Linked DNA regions of Homo sapiens: region 1 is linked to region 2. The links are contacts of gene promoters, found by promoter capture Hi-C in blood cells and fetal thymus (Javierre and others, 2016). All regions are on one chromosome and are shown on one strand. Each heading gives the region's core, a stretch centred on a gene start or on the middle of the fragment in contact. The rest is flanking DNA. Distances are from core to core; before and after follow the strand shown. Region 1 has its middle 11 kb from the start of KRT19. Region 2 holds the start of KRTAP29-1 (keratin associated like protein 29-1).

Region 1 (6,369 bases), core at 1,527-4,026, 240 kb before region 2:
CATTATAAAAAATTTGGTTCCCCCAAGTGTGGAACTCCTCAGCTGTGATACAAAACCCATTGTATATGTAGTGTAGCATCCACTCGAGTCAAGCTTTGTGTTGTCCTCATGGTACTTGGGGTGGAGGGCTACTTGCTTAAGCTTAGTTTAGTAAGGCACAGAGCTGGGATTTGAACCCACAGCTCTTTGCAACATAAAGCTCAAGTTTCTTGCTGTGCCATGAGTAATAAAGTCGTTGTCTCTGACCCAGGGTCTCGTGTCTTCTGCCAGCATCCATAAAACTATGGCAGGACAACTTTTTAACTTGCAAAAAGAGTAAAATTTTAGACCTTTACAGTTCTTGGCAATTTGGCAGCTGTGCCAAGTGAGGCTTTGATCACCTGTGCCCAGGGTCACCCAGACAGAAAGCAGAAAACTAGGTGTGTTACTTTTTAGTTATGCTAACGTGGACTTCCTCTGTTAGCAGGTAAACGGCCCACGGCTAGGCTTCTTTCAGCCACTTTATCTTGCTTTCAGCTTACCCACTTTCAGCTTACCCGGGCCTCGCTCCCTCACTCAGGGGGCCCTCCATCTTTGTGCCTCTCCCATATCTCATGGATCTCATGCGTTAGGCTAGTGGTTCTCACACTATAGTGAGCCTCAGAATCACCTGGAGAACTTATTAAAAATTCAGACTTATTAAAGGTGCAGGTTCATCCACAAAGACTCGATTCAGTAACCCTGGCTCGCCTCTCCATGGGTTCTGTCCTGGGGGTGGAAGGACCACATGGCGAGTTGCTGCTGTAAAGAACAGGCTGACTGTGAGAATTTGTGAGCAGGGATTTGATCAAAGCTGGCTTGAGACAGATGAGCCTGGTGCTGGGGTGAGTTGCCGGGGTAGGTCAGCTCTGGGGGAGGCGGCTGTGGTCCTTTGGTCTTGAGGTGATAAGGCGATGATGGTGGGGCAGCAGAGGGAAGGAGTGAGGGGGTGCTGGGACAGGGCTGTTGACCCAGCTGGGTGATAGCCCTGTGTTTCCAGCCTCAGGAAACCTGCTGTCTGACTCACCTGGTACTTTGCATGTATCATCTCCTGGCTCAAACAATCACTGTTGGCTTCTGCAGGAAAAAAATAAAAAATCAAATCTAGTGGCTTGACCTGCTAGGCCCTTTGTTGTCTGATTCGAACCAGCTCTGCAGCCTCTGCTCCCTGGTTTTCCTTTGACACAGTGGTTAGACCGCAAGGTGCAGGCCCAGACCTTGTGAGTTCAAATCCCAGCCCGGTGCCTTACCAAACTCAGCTTAAGCAAGTAGCTCTCAGTTTCCTAGTTGGCAAAATGGGAGTGATGACAGTGTCCACAGCATAGGGGAGCTTCGATGATTTAAACAAGTTCATGGATGCCACATACTCGAACAGAGTTAGGCATAGAGGAAGAGGCCAATACATTTAGCCTGTTTTTATAAGATTTCTTTTTTACTGGAACTTCCCACTATCCGCCACCTCCATGTCCTTACTCTAGGCACCATTTACTGTGGCTCACCCTGGGGCTGTGAAGGGCCCCCTCCTCCAGGGCGCCCTCCCTGCTTACCCAGGCCTTGATCCCTCACTCAGGGTGCCCTCCATCTGAGCTCCAGCAGCCCCGGGTCTATGTCCCTCCTCTGACCCTGGCCTGCCTCCTGCCTTTGTCAGGAGCCTACAGTGTTTACCTCTTTCTCTTCCCCGAGCTCAGGTCGTCCCCTGGGGACAGACATCCTGGCTCCAGGGCACCTGCCTGCTGGTTTCTGCTGAGCAGGACACCAGCTGTGGGACTTTAGGCAGGCTGAGGCCCCACTCTCTCTCAGTTTTCTGACCTATATAAACTGCTGGAGGTAGGCTGAAGCACGTGTTTGGGCTTTAAAAGAGGGAGAATCTTTGCTGAAGCAAAATCTCACAGAAAGCTGAGTATATAAAACCAGTGTGAATGCATGTGTGAGAAGGCCTGGGAGTGTGTGAGTGTATGTGTGAGCATGTGTATGCATGTGTGTGCATGTGTGAGTAGGTGTGAATACTGTGTGAGGTGTGTAAGTGTGTGTGAGTGTGGGTGGTCACAGCAGATCCGCTCAGCTCCCACCTCTCTGCTTAGGGCTTAGCAGGCGAGGCTTGAAGATCTCTGGGCTAGAAGATTTCTATGCCCCCATCCTACAAGTGTAGGAGTTTTGTCTAAATCATCTTGCTGGGCTTTTAGATGCTTATTATGTTTCTTTTTCTTTTTCTTTTTTTTTTTGAGACAGAGTCTTGCTCTGTTGCCCAGGCTGGAGTGCAGTGGCTCTATCTCGGCTCACTGCAAGCTCTGCTTCCCAGGCTCAAGCAATTCTTCCTGCCTCAGCCTCCCTAGTAGCTGGGATTACAGGCACTCACCACCATGCCCAGCTAATTTTTGTAGTTTTAGTAGAGATGGGGTTTCGCCATGTTGGTCAGGCTGGTCTTGAACTCCCGACCTCAGGTGATCCACCTGCCTTGGCCTCCCAAAGTGCTGGGATTACAGGTGTGAGCCACTGTGCACGGCCAAGAAGATGCTTACTATGTTTCTTAGCAGTCAAGGTGAGGATAAGGATGAGGTAACATGGACATGGCAGGAATGGGAAACTTGGGGTTCGTGAAGCCTCCTCTCTTCTCCCCATGCTCCAGCCCTTTCTTCTGAAGCCCCAGACATGGATATCCCTGTTGGGATGTGTTTGTTCGGTTTCTGTGTACCAGGTCCTCATTGTATGTTTACTCAGCGAGGACAGATATCTCTGGTGGATCTTCTCATCCCCACAGGCTCCAGCCCTAATCCCAGGCAAGGACTTTGGAGGAAGCACTTTCCTCTCCAACTCCAGCACATTCCACTGGAGGGGGAAGGGTCTTGGCAGGACTGAGCCAGGGGAGGGCAGAAGATGCTTCCTGGCACTGTGGTTCCTTGGTGCATCCCCCGTGCCTCCCTGGTGCTGGCACGGCTGGTAGGCCTTGGGCTGGTAATTGGGCAGCCTGCTGAGGGCTGATGCTGGCACTGGGTAGTTCCTGCCTGGAATGCACGTGAGATGCCTAAGGGAGCCGGTGAGGCTTTGTCTTCTGTTAATACTCTGTGTGTGTGTCTTTGAGGTGGGATAGTGTTCCTTTTCAACTGACTTCAAAAAGCGCTTCAGATACCAGGCCCCTCTCATGGGATCAGGCGTCAGCTGCTCTTCCTTGGGGCAAAGGGGATCTCCCCCGTTCTCCCTCATCTCCCCCTTAGTCCCCAGGCCTGGGCATTCCTGGTATTCCCAGCTCCTGGCAGCCCATCTCGCTATGTGATTCTCTGTGGTTTCTGCCTGATGAATGTTTATCCTGCAGCCGGTTGGAGCCGGGATGAGCAGGGCCTCAGCATCCTGTCTCCAGAGCAGCTCTGAAGCTCCTTCCAGCTGCTGTTAGGAATGCCCCTTCTGCCCCAACCCCCTGCTCACCTGGTCCAGAAACTCACTAACCTGACCACCCCTCCCCCAAGTCTGCAAGGCCCCGCTTGCCAGCCTAAAGCCAGTGGAGCCTGGAATGAGTCAGAATTGAAAATAATAAGCACTCCCCTCAACCCATGCTAGAGGTGAGACATGCTCACTGCTGCTTTTTTGAAAATGTAGAAAACACAGATCTTCATTAGAAATCATCTGTCTCTTGGCTGGGCGCAGTGGCTCACGCCAGTAATCCCAGCAGTTTGGAAGGCTGAGGTGGGTGGATCACTTGAGGTCAGGAGTTTGAGACCAGCCTGGCCAACATGGTGAAACGCTGCCTCTACTAACAATATAAAAATTAGCCAGGTGTGATGGCAGGCACCTGTAATCCCAGCTATTCAGGAGGCTGAGGCAGGAGAATCACTTGAACCCAAGAGGCAGAAGTTGCACTGAGCCAAGATTGCGCCACTGCATTCCAGCTTGGGTGATGGAGTAAGACTCTGTCTCAAAAAAAAAAAAGAAAAAAAAAAAAAAAAAAAAGAAAGTCGCCTCTTTCATACCAACCCCTAACTGTGGGCTCCGTCTGTGAAGGCAGGGCCCAGGTGGACACAGCCCTTGTCCTTCCCCTCCCTCAGCAGGCATCAGCGCTGGCAGAGATCGGGGTACAGTCATTGCTTGGTTAGTAGAACCTAATTCTGCCAGGACGCGTTCCAACACAGATCTAGGAGGGCCCCGGTGTGATTCCTTTCCTGGAGGTGGATTAGATAAACCACCGTCCCAGACCAGCTTCCTGACCTCAGTGCAAATAGGAGGCTCACACCTCAACCAGGAGCCATGCAAGATTCTCTCCTTCCCTTGTCCTCCCCATGAATCGTCAGCCTGACCTGCTGGCTCTGCCCTCGGGATATCCCTTGCACCAGGCCACTGTTCCTGAAGTCCTCTGATGTCTCCCCAGAACAAGCCCCCAGTGTCTCTCACCTGAACTCCATTAGAGCCTCTTATTAGATCTCCAGCTCTTTGGGCCCCACGGTCTATTCCACAGGGAGCAGCCAGGGGTGGGGAGGGCGTCCCAGTGCTCCTCTGCTCAAAGCACCATTACTCTCAAGATAAAAGCCAGCGCCTCCATTAGACCGCAGACACCGAGTGCTCTGTCCTGGCCTCCCCTGGGCTCATCTCCTGCACACTGTCATTCTGGCTCACCCCTCTTAACCACTGGGACTTCTTGGTGTTGCCTGAACAGACCAAGCTCCCTCTTCCTTAGGGATTTTGGCTTTGCTGTGCCCTTGGCTTGGAATAATCTTCCCTGGGGATCTGAGGGCTCCTTTGCCTCATTCAGGTCTCTGTTCATGTGTCACCTCCTCAGAGAGGCCTTCCCTGACCACCCCTCAATGGCCTTCCCTGCTGACCCCCTCCCTGGCTTTGCTACTCTGCCCCCTACCCCAGATGAAAGCCCCAGGAGGGCAGGCAGCTTTAGACTGCCCTGCTCTTGAAGCCCAGAGTCTAGAAGGTGCCTGGCACACAGAAGGTGGACCATAATTGGTGTTAAATGAAAAAAAATAAAAGGGCTTCAGGAGAAGGCTCTGTTCTGGCAAATAATCATTAAATGTTTACTAGTGCTGGAGTCAGCCCTGGGGCTAGATACAGAAGCTCCAAGTCTAGATGGGGAGACAGAGCTGTGGTAAGTGCTGGGCAAGTGGGTGGGGGTGGGAATGCTGACCCAGCCTGAGCGGGTCAGGGTGGACATATCAGGGAGAAGAAACCCATGCCAATGGAACTGAGAGGAGCTGGCATGGCTGCCATCCAGGTAAAGGGAGGGGGCAGGTAGGCAGGGAGGATGCTCTGGCCAACGCCGGGTGGAGGTGGCCTCCAGCATACAGCGGGTGTTCAGTGAAAATGCTTGCAGTGTCCAAGACCCCTGCATCCGAGGAGGACAATTTGAGTTTCTGGACGGGAACCTTCCCAGGTGAGGGGGAGTACAGAGCTGAAGCTTCCCCTCAGGAGTCGTGGGATCAGATGGGTTTTGAAAGGAAAGATTTTGCCTGTGGAGGGGTCTTGCTCATCTGGGACTGCCCAGAGTCTGTTCTTGAAGGAGGCAGCATCGCCACCACAGCCCACCAGGATCCTGATGGGAGGGAAGTTTGTCAGCCAGAAGGCAGCAGGGAAGCACCCAGGTGCCCTCTCCTGGGTGCTGGGAATCCGGGCAGGCACCCGGACATTTTCTTTCTCTCTGTCCTGTGTCTGGCACTCTCCTTGCCCCAGTCCAGATGGAATGGGCCACAGCTTGAAGTGGGGCAGAGGCGTCAAATGAGGCCCAAATTGAGTAGGGCAGGACAAAAGCTGAGAGAGACACCCCTGGCTAAGATCGGTGGGGGGGCCTCCCTGTGTGGAGTGAGCGTGAGCCTGCTCACGTACTCACCTCCAGGGAGAGGGAGTGAGGAGGAGGCAGGCCCCTGTCTTCCCAGGCTGTGGAATGTGGCACCTCGGGGAAGCTGGCCCCTGGACCTGGGACTATTCCTTGCAGGACTCAGCTGTCCCTCCCCACCCACACCATCTGCCCTGGTTCTGGTCGGGCTGGTTTTTCCTCCCCTGAGGACTTGGAGAGGAACACCAGGGGCCATCCTGACCTAGCTTACTTGCCCTGCCCTCCCCCTTTCCTGGGTTTCCACGTCTCAGGAAGCCATTGAGATGCAGCAGAAATGGCCAGACCTGGGCTGTGCGGAGGCTCAAGTCCCGAGAGCATCAGCCTCCTGACCCGAGTGCGGCTTTGGGCTGCTCATGACATGGCCGGCGCTGCCCTGTCCTGGCTGCTGGGCCCTTCAAGACAGTGAATAGGATTCTTCCCCATCTGGGCAAGAGCAAGGCTCCCCAAGAGACGGCATGGGTCCCAGGGCTGGGGGATGGTAGTGGCAGGGATCTTGCTCAGCTGAGACCGTCCAGGACTTGGCCAGC
Region 2 (6,527 bases), core at 1,511-4,010:
CATTTCATATGGATTACAGCAATTCTTTGAAGTAATATGTATTCTCTCCTATTTTTTCACCTATACATAAGATGCAGAATTCGAAGGACAAACAATCCAAGTGCCCATCAATGGACAATTAAATTGTGGTATATTCACCCAATGGGATATTATACTGTGAAGATGACTGGAAAATGGCGACATGCAATAGCATGGATGAATCTTACTAACATAGTGTTGATTGATATAAACAAGCTCCAGAAAACCATACGTGTGTGTATATATTTATGTATATTAATATAATGTGTGTATATATATACACACACTCAAACATATATGTGTGTATTGTTCAAAAACCACAGACACACATATGTATGAGTATACATGCATTTATACACATATGTACACACACAAACACATATATATAAAGGGAGTGATAAAATTCACGATTGTCATGGCTAATAAGTAACATGCAAATGACTAAAACCCAGTTCTTTCCAAAGCCTAGGTTCTGTATGGATCATGATATGTCTCAATGTGGTCACAGGTGTCTTTGTTGATACACTAGGTGTTTTTAGTGCCTTGAACTACAGCAAGACAGATGTTCTTGCTATTAAGAGTTTCCTTTAGGAGAAAAGAAAACAAGAGCAGAATCACTTAGAGAAAAATGGATGTAGAATGGATTGCTTTAAAACTATAAAAGTGGTATAGGATATTGGACTGAAGTTGATGTGATTTTTCAAACATGCTCATGTTCCCAGTTTGATTGACATATTTGGTAAGACTGAAAGTATTAAATACATCCTCTGGGAAGATGAAGAGCTTTGGGGGTAAATATTCAGCAATAAAACACAGTGCATGGATTCCTGCAGATTGAAAGATGCCAACATGAATACAGACAAGAAGGAGGGCAAAAGAAGTGATCCATGGTGTGACATAGAAACCAACTGTGGGGAAAAAGGCATTTCAATGGCAGGGGAGAAGGTTTTCCAGACATTGTTCTGATCAAAAATGTTTCTCTTCTTTTTAAAATGGAGGTGAAGAGGGTGCCAAGGAGAAGGCATTTTGTAGCTGGGGGTTTGCAAAGTACCCTTCAGCGTTTTCAGTATTTTCAATAATTTGTGAAGCAACCAAAGCAAACAAACACCCACAAAAAACTAACCTGAGACATGACAACGCAGTTGATGAAATCGCCATACTTTGAAGACTTAGGTAATTAGCTAACATATTCAACAGAATGAGTTAGTGGCAGAGCCAGAAATCAAGGCCAGCCCCATCTGGCTCCCCACACCGTGATCTTTCCACTCCGTCATGTGCCTCCAGCGTGAACCGGCCAGAACGTTGGCTGGTGTAGAACACCGGACCTGGTTGGTGATGCGGAGCCAGGACAAGCCCGGAGGAAAAGCAGAAGGGCCAAGAAAGTCCCTCACGAATTCCTCTTGGAAGGGATTGGTTTAACATTAACACCACTTTACAGTGATTTTTTTTATTATCACTGCTGGCGTGTTTTTATTTGTATAGAATTCATATGCTATTGATGCCCTAGGGTGGGTTTGATACTTCCTGATGAAATATTTGGTAGTTTAAAAAATTTCCAAAATTAAAAGACTGTGTTTGAGTGTATTGATAAGTAGAGGTAAGTACTCACACCAGTGTGGTCTAGCTGCTGATTACAGTCACTGGAGTGGGCGGAGGATCCCCAGGATGGGGCCTGGGCAACCTGCTCACGAGCCAGTCTGTTGCCATAGGGGTGTCAGCCTGCAGCCACTATATCAGTGTCGCCTTCTCCCTGCCTCCCCAAAGTCAGGGGGTCTAATAGGTGGTTAAGATCAGGGGTTTGGTGGTCAGACAAAGCTAGGTTTGAATTTTGTTTCTACCCCTTTTCATTTGCATAATTTTGGGAACATGATTTAAACTCTATGAGTTTTGCCACTTCTGTTTTCTTCTTTTCTGTTCTAAAAAAATCTTGAGAGGAACCAATTTGGGGGAGATTTTAAGCTTCCTAAAAGGGCCAATGAAGTTTTATATTTTAATCTTAACTTTGTTTTAAACCTGGTTTCTTCTTTATTTATTACTTTTTTTTAGTTTTGCCACTTCTAACATAGTGATGACAATTATACTTACTGAAGTCATTGTGAGGATCCAGTGAAAAATGCAGCCAAGGACTTGATCTAGTAACTATGCAATAAATGAAAGCCATTTCTATTGTTATTATTAGTAATAGTACTAGTAAACAAGTTTCAGGAATGATAAATGGGAAGGTTTTAAAAAGAGGTAGAGGCACTTAAGTGTCCCTGGGTTCCTTGGACTAATTTTCCATTTCCCGTCTTGACATCCTCTCCCCAAACTGGGTCAAGGCTTCATTTCTGATTGAATGGTGCAAAGCTGCATTCCTGGAGGAACAGCAGGGCCACTCTGGCTTGGCAGAGGCCTCCTGATGAAAGGTTAGTGCCAGGAAAGGCCTGCTTCAGTGAGGCTGGAGAGCAACCTGTAAAAGAGACAGCTCATCCAAGAGCAGGAGCAGTGTCAACGAATCCAAATGCAGCGCAGAAAACTCCCGACTCAACAGACACCTTTTCAAAGTTGAAACATCTCCCAGGCTCCTGAAGCCTGCTAATCAGATGTTTGCATGCAAATGAGTAAAAACAATAACAAGGAAAGATGCTGCATGGCGTGCCAACACCCCTAGTGAAGGACTATAAAAGCCCCTCTGTATCGGATGTCTTTCCAATGCAGGTATACTGAGCTTGCAACTTCCCAGCAAGGTCAGCACCAGCACCATGGCAGACGGCTGTTGTCCTGGAAACACCACAGCCATTCCAGCTGTGCCCACCATCACCACATACCCAGTTAAAGGTGGATTTCGACATGCTCTCTGTTTGCCTAGTTCCTGCCACAGCAGAATGTGGCAACTGGTCACATGCCAAGAAAGCTGTCAGCCATCCATTGGTGCCCCAAGTGGCTGTGATCCTGCTTCGTGTCAACCTACCCGCCTTCCAGCAACGTCTTGTGTGGGTTTTGTTTGCCAACCTATGTGCTCCCACGCAGCCTGCTATCAGTCTGGCACTGGTCAGTCTCCTTGTCTGGTTAGCTCATGTCAGCCATCCTGCTCGGAATCTACTTGTTGTCAGGAAAAGTGCTGCGATGCCAGTCCCTGCCAGCAAAGCTCCTGCCAGGAATCTGTCTGCATGTCTGGATCATGTCAGGCAGCTTGTGGCCAATCAGTCTGCTGTGATGCTGGATCCTGCCAGCCATCCTGCTCTGAAGTGACCTCCTGTCCGGAAACTTCTTGCCTACCAACCATCTGTACAGCTAGTCCATGCCAACCAACTTGGTGCCAAGGAAGTTCATGTCAACCCGTCAGTGGTGAAGGCCAGCCCTGTAAATCAACTTATTATCAACCCATCTGCTATATTTTCAAGCCTTGCCAATCAGCCCTCTACATGCCTGTTCCCTGCCAGCCATCGACTTGTGTGTTCAGTTCTTGCAATACTACTTGCTGTGTGCCTTCCCATTGCCAGCCACCTCACTGCCAACTGGTTCCTTCCACATGCTTCATCTACCAGCCAGTGGCTAACTGCCAGGCCCCTTGTTCCACAAAGAACTGTTGCAAACCAGCTTCTTGTGACACTGTGATTTCTGGCCAACCAACTTGTGATGGACCCCCTTCCTATAACCAGAGTGGCTGCAAATCAGCTTGCTGTGTGACTGGTTTAGGCACATCACCCAGTAGTGGCTCCAATTGCTTGCCGACTTCATGCCAACCCAGCTGTGAGTCCAGCTTCTGCAAGGCAACACTTTGTTAATGGAGCCCTCTTCACACCTCCTCTGAGGGTCTGCGGCTGTCTATAAATGCATAGCCATCCCTGGGTGCCTGCCTCCCACCGAGTACAAATGCTGCCTGCTTTCTAACTTTACCCTGATTCCACCTTCACATTCTCTCCAGGTGCTGACCAGGGAACTTGTCCAGGCACGAAGAGATCCTTCTTAACCGAGAATAACCTTTCAGCAACCATGGACTACCACACTGCTGCTTGCATTTCCTGATGATGTCAATTCATTTCACTTTAGCAAACCCTCTCTTGTTTCTCTTTCTTGATGCTGCCTGGTCTTTCAGAAGACCTCGTTGCTGCCAGCTGCTAATAAAAATGTGACTGGTTAAGTATAATAAATAAGACTCCTGGAGTGCTTTCATTCCTACACACACCTCTATGTAGATTTCCTTCAGGTCACATTTGAACACAATGAGCCTGAGTCATCTAAGTCAGTGGGTCTGCATTGGTCTGCAAGGGTAGCTAGTGTCTAGGATTATAGATTCTCCAGCTGGACGAGAGTAAGGGCAAACAGTTCACTGGCTTCCAAAATTTTCACCACCAAGAGTTCTTTTGAGCTGAGTGGGCTCATTTTCCCTATAGTGAGTAGACAGGAAGCCAACAACAAAAATGGTTCTGGAAAGCCACAGATGAAAACAAACATGAGGTATTGGCCATAGAGAATAGCTTAGGGTTAATTCATTTAAGATTCTTTTTTTTTTTTTTTTTTTTTTGACACAGAGTTTCACTCTTGTTGCCCAGGCTGGAGTGCAAGAGCGTGATCTCGGCCCACCGCAACCTCTGCCTCCTGGGTTCAAGCGATTCTCCTGCCTGGGACATTGTGTCAGCTGGCTAAGGAGAAATATTCATAGGATCCCTTTGTATTATCATAGAGCAGGCAATGAAGGGTGTACCTGTAGGTGAGCAGCAATAATTTGGTAACTAGCAAACAAATCTTCATAGTTCACATTTTTCTGTCACTGAGGTATACTTTGGATCTGTAGAGAGACTATTAATTGTTTTATCCCCAGTTTTAGAATCACAAGGGTCGTAGTCTTGAAAGAAGGTTCTGGGTCAAAAAAGAGGGGGATGGCCATAAGAACAAAATCTAGCACCTGAACATGGAAGGGTCCAGGTGGAGAATTTCTACCTGCAGTTGAATTGACTAATGTCAGCACTGAATCTCTTCTTGAATTGAATTCAAGAAGCATTGAATGCTTCTTGAATCCCTAGATATAGGTGGGCTTATCATTTCAACAGTTCAAGTAGCTAGATCTGTTCTAGTCTTCTAATGGGTATTTTCCTTTTATTTCTAACTATGTATGGGTATTGCCTTCAGTACCTTTTCTACCCACACACATGCACACACATATAGATGCATACAGGTACACACACACACACTCAGATACAGATGCACACACATACATGCACACACACACTCACACACAGACACACACCACATTTCAACTTAGTTGTATGGCTGCACTTAAGGTTGATTTATTTGCTCCATGATTTACAATTGCCTATAAAACATGCCTAGCCAAACCTGAGTAAAGTGCACTAAAAGACTGATTTTAGCATTTTAGCCTTCCCCATCTAACTGGCCCAGCTGATATCACCCTCTTGTTCCCCCCTGCCCTTTGGATGACTCCTGTCCCAGTTTAAATGGTTGGACTTCTGTCCTTATGTCTTTATGACCAGTGCCCTGACTTTCTCCCAGATCGGGCCTTCTCCCCAACCCGAGGAGGGACCTTAGGATCTGCTCATAAACTTACCTGATGGTCACTGGCTGAGCATCTCTCGTTCCAGTCCTCTCAATCACTGTGATTTGAGGTTCTCAGTAGTTAAATAGGTCTTGCCAATATGTGTGGGACATTCTAAAAAAAACCTTACAGATGAAGGAAAACTAACCAAAAGAGCCCGGGAATAATGAGACATCAAGGTCACTGAAGGACAAGAGTATGGGCATTTGCCTTATGACCTGCTTGGAAATGCAACTCAGAGGAGGACTTCTATGGTGGTGGTGAGGAAAAAGCACTAGACCACGGCTCAAAGGAGAAGGCTTGAGTTGCATCCTGGCCACTTATTTACTGTATGACCTTATGTAACACCAGGGTGCTAATCTATAACACGAAGAAGTTAGTTTATTCTACCTCTGAGGGCTCATTTATTTACATGATCTTGTGAGTTTGTTGATGTGTTCTGTGAGGTTCTAAATATTCTCAAACTGATTAAAACTGAAGCCTCTTGTACTTCTGGAACTGATGGGGAAGAGATTTGGAAGGATATCTTTTTAGTATGCCATAAAATAAGAAATGTGATTGACTAATTTTGAGGTCCAAAAAGAAAATTAGAAACAAAAAGGAGGAGGGGGAGAGAGGGAACTTGATATCACAAAGGAAGTGCCATGGATGGAATGTCTCCCAGAAACGATCTTTGGGTGGACACCCTGTGCAAAACCTCTCTTGAGACATGAATGGAACTTCACGGAAGATGAATCCTTAAGTAAGCCTGTGAAAGAATTCTCAAAAGTATTATTTCTCAGAGATTTCAAAATTAAAATAACAATTACATATTACTTTACAGGTATTAGATTTGCAAAAAATAGAGTGCTATATCAGAGCCCAGCAAACTTATCCTGTAAAGGGACAGATATACATAATTTAGGCTTTGTGGGGCACATGGTCTCTGTTGCAACTACTGAATTTTGCCGTTGTATCATTGCATTATATCATT

Evidence for each region. The method cuts DNA at HindIII sites, captures the fragments that hold promoters and counts their contacts. A CHiCAGO score of 5 or more calls a contact.
Region 1: a contact is called between a fragment that was not itself captured here and the fragment with the promoter of KRTAP29-1 in region 2, in 1 of 17 cell types (naive CD4 T cells). The highest score is 5.2, in naive CD4 T cells.

Annotation. Positions count from the first base shown.
Region 1 is chr17:41,535,827-41,542,195 of GRCh38, reverse strand. No RefSeq gene overlaps it. Among named protein-coding and RNA genes, the nearest start is that of KRT19, 11 kb to the right of the region's middle. RefSeq lists an enhancer at 2,403-3,023. The HindIII fragment of the contact is 5,266 bases long and covers 144-5,409 here.
Region 2 is chr17:41,299,084-41,305,610 of GRCh38, reverse strand. It overlaps KRTAP29-1 (keratin associated like protein 29-1), which reads left to right and starts at 2,760. Exons shown (of 1, transcript NM_001257309.1): 1 at 2,760-3,785. The coding sequence starts at 2,760. The coding sequence ends at 3,785. The HindIII fragment of the contact is 6,603 bases long and covers 1,980-6,527 here.